2 separate regions of the Homo sapiens genome follow, and region 2 is linked to region 1. The links are contacts of gene promoters, found by promoter capture Hi-C in human tissues and cell types (Jung and others, 2019). All regions are on one chromosome and are shown on one strand. The core of a region is centred on a gene start or on the middle of the fragment in contact, and the rest is flanking DNA. Distances in the headings are between cores, read along the strand shown.

Region 1 (3,820 bases), core at 589-3,088:
TCCTCGAGCGCGCTAACATAGCGTTATTAACAATTGGAAATCCTAGCAGTAAAGTTCTCGACACTGGACAGGGCAGTCCCTTGGTGCAGAGTCCCCAAGGCGGCGGACGAGGAGACTGAGGAGGCGGCGGCGGCCGCGGCGGCCACGAGGGATCGGGTGAGCGCGGCCGCCGGGCCCACGGCCGCCTGCGCCGCGCAGCCTCCTCCGCTGGATCCGGGAGCTGGCGGCGCCGCCACCGGCGAGGGCGAGGGCGAGGCCTGAGCGGCGGCGGCGGCCTGCGCGGCGGCGGCGGCAGCGGCGGCCGGGCCCAAGCTGCCCCCGATGATGCTCTCGATGGAGAAGGGCGAGCGCGCCAGCGCTGAGGCGCCCGGGCCGCCCGCCTTGGCCGCGGAGGCCGGCAGGGGGCCGGGTAGGGCGGCGCCGAGCGGGTGCGGCCGGTAGCCGAAGGCGGTCCGGGCCAGCTCGGCGGCCGCGCCGTGCGGTGGCGGGGGCGGCGGGGGCGAGTGCGGGTGGAAGGCGGCGGCGGCGGCGGCGGCCGCTGCGGCGGCGAAGAGGGCCGAGGGCGGCGCGTAAGGCGGCAGCTGCAGGCCGTAGCCGCAGCCGTAGGGGCCGTAGCCGTAGGCATGCGGGGGCGGCGGGGGCGCGGGCGGGAAGAGCGCGGCGGCGGCTGCCGGGTCGCCCGCGCCCCCTGCGGCTCCCGCGCCGCGCAGCAGCAGAGACTCGGCGGCCGCGGCGTTGGGTGGGAGCAGCGGCTGCCGCTTGAAGCGCTTCCTCCGGCGCAGGAAGCTGCCGTTGTCGAACATGTCGGCGGACTCCGGGTCCAGCGTCCAGTAGTTGCCCTTGCCCGGGTTGCCGGGCTCGCGGGGGATCTTGACGAAGCAGTCGTTGAGCGAGAGGTTGTGGCGGATGCTGTTCTGCCAGGCGGGGAACTTCTCCCGGTAGTAGGGGAAGCGGCCGCTGATGAACTCACAGATCTCGCTCAGCGTCAGCCGCTTCTTGGGGCTCTGCAGGATGGCCATAGTGATGAGCGCGATATACGAGTAGGGCGGCTTCACCAGCGGGTTCTTGGCGCCGCTACCCGCGCTCCCGCCGCCGCCCGCGCCGCCGCCGCCGCCGCCCCCACCGGCTCCTGCCCCCGCCGCCGGGGCCGGGCCCGGGGGCGCCGGGGAGCCCCCAGCAGGCGGGGCCAGCAGGATGTCATCGTCGTCCTCCTCCTCCTCCAGATCCTCCAGCTCGTCCTCCCCGGCGTACGAGCGCCGCCGCCGCCGCCGCTGCGCGGGGACAGCCAGCCGGGGCCCGCCACCGCCGCCCTCGTCGTCGTCCTCCTCTTCCTCGTCTTCTTCGTCCTCGCCCTCCCCCACCACGTCGATGTCTGTTTCCTCGGCGAGGCCAGAGGCATCGGACATCTCAGTGCTCAGGGTCATAGCTGTGGCGCGGCGGCGGCGGGGCGGCGCATGGGGGCGCCGGGCTCCGGGCTCCCTCTGCGCCCCAGCCCGGGTCCCGGGCGGCAGGCCCGGCCGGGGGGCGCCACGCTGGGGGCGCTGCGACTGCGGCTGCCGGAGCTGCGCCGGGGCTGCCGGGTGGCGGCGGAGTCTCGCGCGCCGACTTTATAACTCCTGCGCCGCCGCGGTAGCCGCGCGGATGCTGCGCTCCCTGGGCTCCGCTCGCGCCCGGCCCGGGCGGAGGACTTGACCTTCTCCTCTCGGAGCAGCTTTTGCCCCGTCAGCTGAGGAGGGGGTGGCGGGGCCCGGGCGGGCGAATCAGAACGCCAGGCGCCCAGGAACGTGCGGGACGGGTGAGAGTCTAAGAACAGAGCTCGGCGAGGCCAGGGCTGAGTCCAGGAGAGGGCGGACCTTCCTCGGCTTATAGCAGAAGGGGGCCTGTCACATGGTGTGCACGTCAGAGCGCTGCCGAGGGAAGGAAAGCAAGCCTAGGAAATCAGCCCTTCTCGGGAGAGAAAATTCACCCGTAGGAGGGAGGCAGCAGCTGAGAAGAGTGGGGAGGAGAGGGGACCTCACTATTTCTTGCCAAAGAGGCTGATGCCCGAATTACGCGGCTGTCTGCACCGAGGGCCGCTGCACGAGTTAGACTTCCCAGCCTCCTCAATTAGTCCTCCACCCTAACCTCAGAAGCACACCCGCGACACTCTGGTTTGACCCCTCGACAGCCTGTAGGAGCCTTCCAGCCGGGGGATAACCACCCCATCCTCTGAGGTGGCCCCTGGGGGACGCTCTGGGGTCGGTTGGGGGTGTCCAGCCCCTCCAGATCGGGCGAGCGGCCCCCCATTGGATCTGATGCGAAGCCCCCCAATTTAAGCACGATAATAATTGTTTATTGACCCTTTAACCCATTCTCTTCGGTTTTACTCCAAAGACGTTTGTTTTCCGCCATCTGTTAATAAAAACGCTGTGAGACTGGCGTTTTACTCACTTCTCTGCGATTGAATGCCCTAGAGACTTGACAGTTAAACTAAGCCACTCTAATGAGACGATCTGACAAATGTCATGGGAATAAAGAACGTAATAATTGAATTCGGAGAAGAAATTGAAATTTTTAGTGAAAACCCAAATACACGCACAAAAATTGCACCTAGAAACTACTAAAAAGTTCGACCAGCCTGGCCAACATGGTGAAACCCCGTCTCTACTAAAAATAGAAAAAAATTAGTAGGCGGCGCCTGTAATCCCAGCTACTCGGGAGGCCGAGGCAGGAGAATCGCTTGGACCCGGGATGCGGAGGTTGCAGTGAGCCGAGATCGTGCCACTGCACTCCAGCCTGGGCAACAAGAGCGAAACTCCGCCTCAAAAAAAAAAAAAAAAAACAGAAGTTCGTTCATAATGGGGCTATATAGTTCTCAGTAGGAGGAACATTCTAGTCAGCACTTTGCATAGTAATCTCAAAATACTTAAATTACATAACATATACATATTTCTACTGAGGCTTATTAATAGAAACTATAATGATAGATGACTTTAAGATAAACTTTTTAAAAATGTGTTTTTGGAAAATCCTTAAATATTGTTAATCCTTTCTGGTGAGATGAAAATTTTTTTTATGAGATTAAAGTTCCGCTCAATTCAGTTTTCTTTTCGGGTGACAAGATAGTGGAAATAATTAAGATATGATGCTCTTTTAAATATACCTATCTTTATCACCAACTCAAACGAGCTATTTTGGCTAGTGGAAAAATCCTAATAGTTTGTTGAATTCACATTCACTTATTTGTGCATTTCCTAAAATGCTTCTATTTCAAAGAGGGGAGCTTGTCCCAAAAGTTTAACTTTCTGATTAAAATGACCCCTTGACAAGAACTAAGAATCAAAATTCAATGGCGTTCTGTAGGAACAGCCATCAGCTGCCCTTGTGTATATCATTTTATCGACCAAGTACTTTTCACATTCTGAAACGTGTCATTACTACCGCTGTCAATCACAGAGCCTCAGAAATAAACTGTTTCCCCATCTAAAGACCTCTATTAAAATCGAGTTTTTGTTGCTGAGGACTGCTACCACCAGTTACTCTTACAAGTGACCCATAAAGGCTATCATAGGTCTTTGAACAATCTATGAGAAAGCCTCGACGTTCTAAATAAATTATTTTTCATTAACTCTTGTTTGATATATGGGTGAACAATTTAATTACTGTAATAGGCTGAGCATTAACCTGAGCCAACATTAATCAGCACTATTAATCAGGCATCACATTGCTTTGTTGATGCAGCCAGGAGTCCTTACCAAGGAGTTCACTTTTACATTGGAAAGTTTAAGTTTTATAAGTACTCAGTCGATATCTAAATAAACACCATGACTTTCGCAGCACT
Region 2 (3,820 bases), core at 718-3,217, 550 kb before region 1:
TGTCATTGCAGTGGACTGTAAATTTCCTTTATTAGAATTTTATTTCAAACATGGCTTAAAGTTAGTGGACTGTTACCTGAGTTATCAGAGGTTTGACAACATGAGATTTGACATTGTAGCATAGCAATATTCTAATCCATTCATTCAGTGAGTACCATGAGACTTAAAATCTGACAGTTGATTTTGATGTAAGGTAACAAATTTCCACTGGTTGGTTTGGCAAATGTTAATCAAAGAAAAAATTTTTGAAACTACCAAAAATTTGGTTTAAATTCCCTAGATAATTTCCAAGGAATGGAAATCACTTTCACCTGTATTAGTTTGAGATGCTTGAGAAATATAATCACATTTACTGATATTTTCTCATGAAAAAAACTATAGATTTTATTATTAAATTCTGAAATTTTGGCTGGCTTTTGAATGAAGGTTCTCTAAATTTGTCCATTTAACTGCTCATCTTATTAACAGAATGATACCTTGACACTCGATTGAGCGAGAAAAGCAATTTCATCATGGTTTTTGGTGTTCTCTCAATCTTTAGATTTTTTTAATTCCTTTTGTTTTTCTTTTTCCAAGAGTATGCCATATATGTTGCTGCCCCTTATTTTAGGGGGTGGTAATAAACAGCACTGGTGAAATCTTATGTTTATTATCATACACAAATTCTGTTGGTTTCTGTTTCTGAGTTATTTGTTGTTTTTTCTTTATTTTTTCTCCTTCCCCCTCATTTGCTCATGTCTTGGTTGGCGTTTGGTGGTGTATAACCGTGATTGCGTTACCTTAGCAATAACAATTGGTCGTCTTGGTTACGTTTGTCCTCAAGAGGTGGCCCCCATGCTACAGCAGTTTATAAGACCCTGGTGTGTATTATTCAATCTTTTTTTTTAATTCATTTTTCTTCACTCTTTCTTTCTCTATCTCACTTTTAGATATATTTTCAGTTGGTTACAAAAATCACAATCCTTTATCATTGCCAACCATGTGACTAATCTTGTCCTATCAGGTTTGTGAGGTTTTTCAATAGCATCGTCATGTATATTTATTTTATGTTGTGGCTAACGACTAATTGATGCATGGGATAAGATTGTCACATGCTTGCTGTGTTAAAAAAGCTTGATTATACATAAAAAGCATTTAAATATCCACCAGAAAAATAAAGATGCATGCAAATTCTATAAATTTAGGTTTTTGCATTACGTTTCTTTTTTAGAATTAATTTGGAAACTTGGATTGCATTAAGAAATACATGTTTAAATTTGTTATGTATAAAAATATTATTTGCTTGTTAATGTAAAAGTTAAACATCTACACCATAAGCTATATAGTAATAGTTTATATTGTGGCACTATATCCTATGTTTTGCTTCTTTCAATTGATAATCTTTCAATTCAAATCATTTTAGTAGTGTTTAATGGAATACAAGTCATGAGTACAATTTTAAAAGTTAATTTGGTAATTTGTTCTTCTTGGCTCAGGCTCATTAATAGTTTAAATGGGAGATTCAAATTAGTTATCTACTTTATAAATGCAATTTATTAAGAAAATGTGGATTTCACTGTTTCTACTGTATTGAGATAAGATGGGCCCAACAAACAGGAAGTATGAGTAAACGAAACTAAAGCTTTCCGAAAAACTCTTTTAATATAATCATTATCTATACTGTGGTGCTTATTCCATTAAATACTGTCCATTAGTATTGTCATTGAATCTGCTTGTTACTTAAATGCTAAACTCAATTCTGTAATTCAATAGGTGCACCTCTCTGAGAAACATAAGAGACAATGAGGAAAAGGATTCAGCATTCCGTGGAATTTGTACCATGATCAGTGTGAATCCCAGTGGCGTAATCCAAGTAAGATGTTCACAAAGATTTGTTTTTAATGTCTAATTAATAAAATTTTAAAGGAAGAAACATTCTAATACTTTAATTATAAAAAGTTAACTATTTTCAAAGGTATCAAAATACAGTTAAACCTTTAAAATGTATATTTCTTAATATCTTGAAATTGTAATGCCTTTTTTTTTTCCTAAATTTTTTTTGTCATGAAATGAGATAGTAACAGCAGATTGGGACAACAAGGTTATATTCTTGTCTTGAATCAGGCCATGGCTTCTTTCATCCAAATTTCAGACCTCATTTATTTACTTTGTCCCTGCCTCCCATCCCTGGATATCAGTTTGTGGATATCTACAGTTAATAGAGTGACCAAATAGTAGGAATACTGTCTCTCTATTCTGAATAAAATACTTTGAATCAGATTTAGAAATAATGAATAAAATACAAATCAGCCATTGAAATTGCTCTAATTTTGAGAGCTTATGATTTATTCATCTTTGTTTTCCAAGTTCAAGTTATATGTAGACATTTTAATTATTCGGCAGTAGTATTGAACATGAGTCCAGTTAAGCATCTGGATCCAACTGCCAATTTTCTAGACACACAAAACAAAAACATGTTGAATTACACCATGTATATTCAGTGAACAAAATGCTAACTGTGGGACTCTAGGTTAAATACCTGGATTCTTCAGCAGACACGTTTAAGGAAAAGAAAGCGTGGAAGGAATCCTGTAGACAAGAGACCCAAGATACATCAAATCAATTGAAAAACGTAGTTGAGGCCGAGGCAGGCAGATCACGAGGTCAGGAGTTCGAGACCAGCCTGGTCAACATGGTGAAACCCCATCTCTACTTCAGATAAAAAATTAGCCAGGCTTGGTGGCAGGTGCCTGTAATCCCAGCTCTCGGGAGGTTGAGGCAGGAGAATTGCTTGAACCCGGGAGGCAGAGGTTGCAATGAGCCGAGATCGCGCTATGGCACTCCAGTCTGGGGGACAAGAGCGAGACTTCATCTGGAAAAAAAAAAAATGTAGTTGAGGGAGGGAAGCAAAGAACTAAATTTTGGTTTCCAGGAATGCACACAAGAGTTATAAAACTGCCCCAAAAAAATGCTTTTATAGCAATAACTTTCTCACATTTCTTAATTTTCAAGAAAATTGAAACTTTCCACTCCGAGAGGGGTGTTTTGAACATTTTTAAATTGTGACCTTTTGATGTTTCCTAGCTCGTATTGTGGTTTTTCTTAACTCGGTTTTAGAAACGTTAATTCTGTTTTATAAAATTCAAATTGATACAGGTGATAGACGTTGAAAACCTACAAGTTAGAATTAGAAAATAACTTCTGACTGATTTCACACTCATAAAATATTCATAACTTACTGTTAGAACAAGCCAGTGCCATCTTGAGAGGTTTCTAGTTACAAAATAAGCTTTTGACATTTTCTGGGTTTTTGTTTTTTTTTTTAATACTTAAGAACTTTGTGTGATCTCAAATGTGTGCTAGAGGTATCTGATATGACATGTACCATCTTTTTCAAAAGTATCTTCCGACCAAGATTTTATTGTTTCTTTGTTTTTGAATTAATGTTTTAAGATGATAAAAGTAGCACATGTATGATCATAAAATTGTTACCAACTTAAGAGTTGGTAGAAATTTCTGTTTTATAACTTTTATTCACATACCTTATTTTGGATATGGTTAAAATAAAATGTCATAGGTTTATTTACATTTAAATTTTTTAATCACAAATTCTGGGTATCTGTGCATTTAAATTTTTAACATCAGATTTGGTATTTGGAAGACATAATTTGAATAAATTGTGTTAAGCAAATCTTTTTTGCTTAAATAAACATACACACACTGTAGTATTACCAAATTTTTTGAAATTAGTGAAGTTTTCTGAATATAATAGTAAAATTTATAGTTGACATGTCAGAAAATCAGCAATATGTTGAATGCTGTTTGTTGAACTGTTAGTGTT

What was found. Contacts are between HindIII fragments. The study calls those that stand out against the background at their distance.
Region 2: a fragment that was not itself captured here is called in contact with the fragment with the promoter of FOXD1 in region 1 in 1 of the 25 tissues and cell types used here (H1 embryonic stem cells).

What each region holds. Positions count from the first base shown.
Region 1 is chr5:73,446,939-73,450,758 of GRCh38, forward strand. It overlaps FOXD1 (forkhead box D1), which reads right to left and starts at 1,839. Exons shown (of 1, transcript NM_004472.3): 1 at 1-1,839. The coding sequence starts at 1,424. The coding sequence ends at 27. The HindIII fragment of the contact is 13,220 bases long and covers 1-3,820 here.
Region 2 is chr5:72,899,222-72,903,041 of GRCh38, forward strand. TNPO1 (transportin 1) reads left to right here. Exons shown (of 25, transcript NM_002270.4): 21 at 785-860; 22 at 1,753-1,852. Among named protein-coding and RNA genes, the nearest start is that of MIR4804, 23 kb to the left of the region's middle. The HindIII fragment of the contact is 4,390 bases long and covers 1-3,820 here.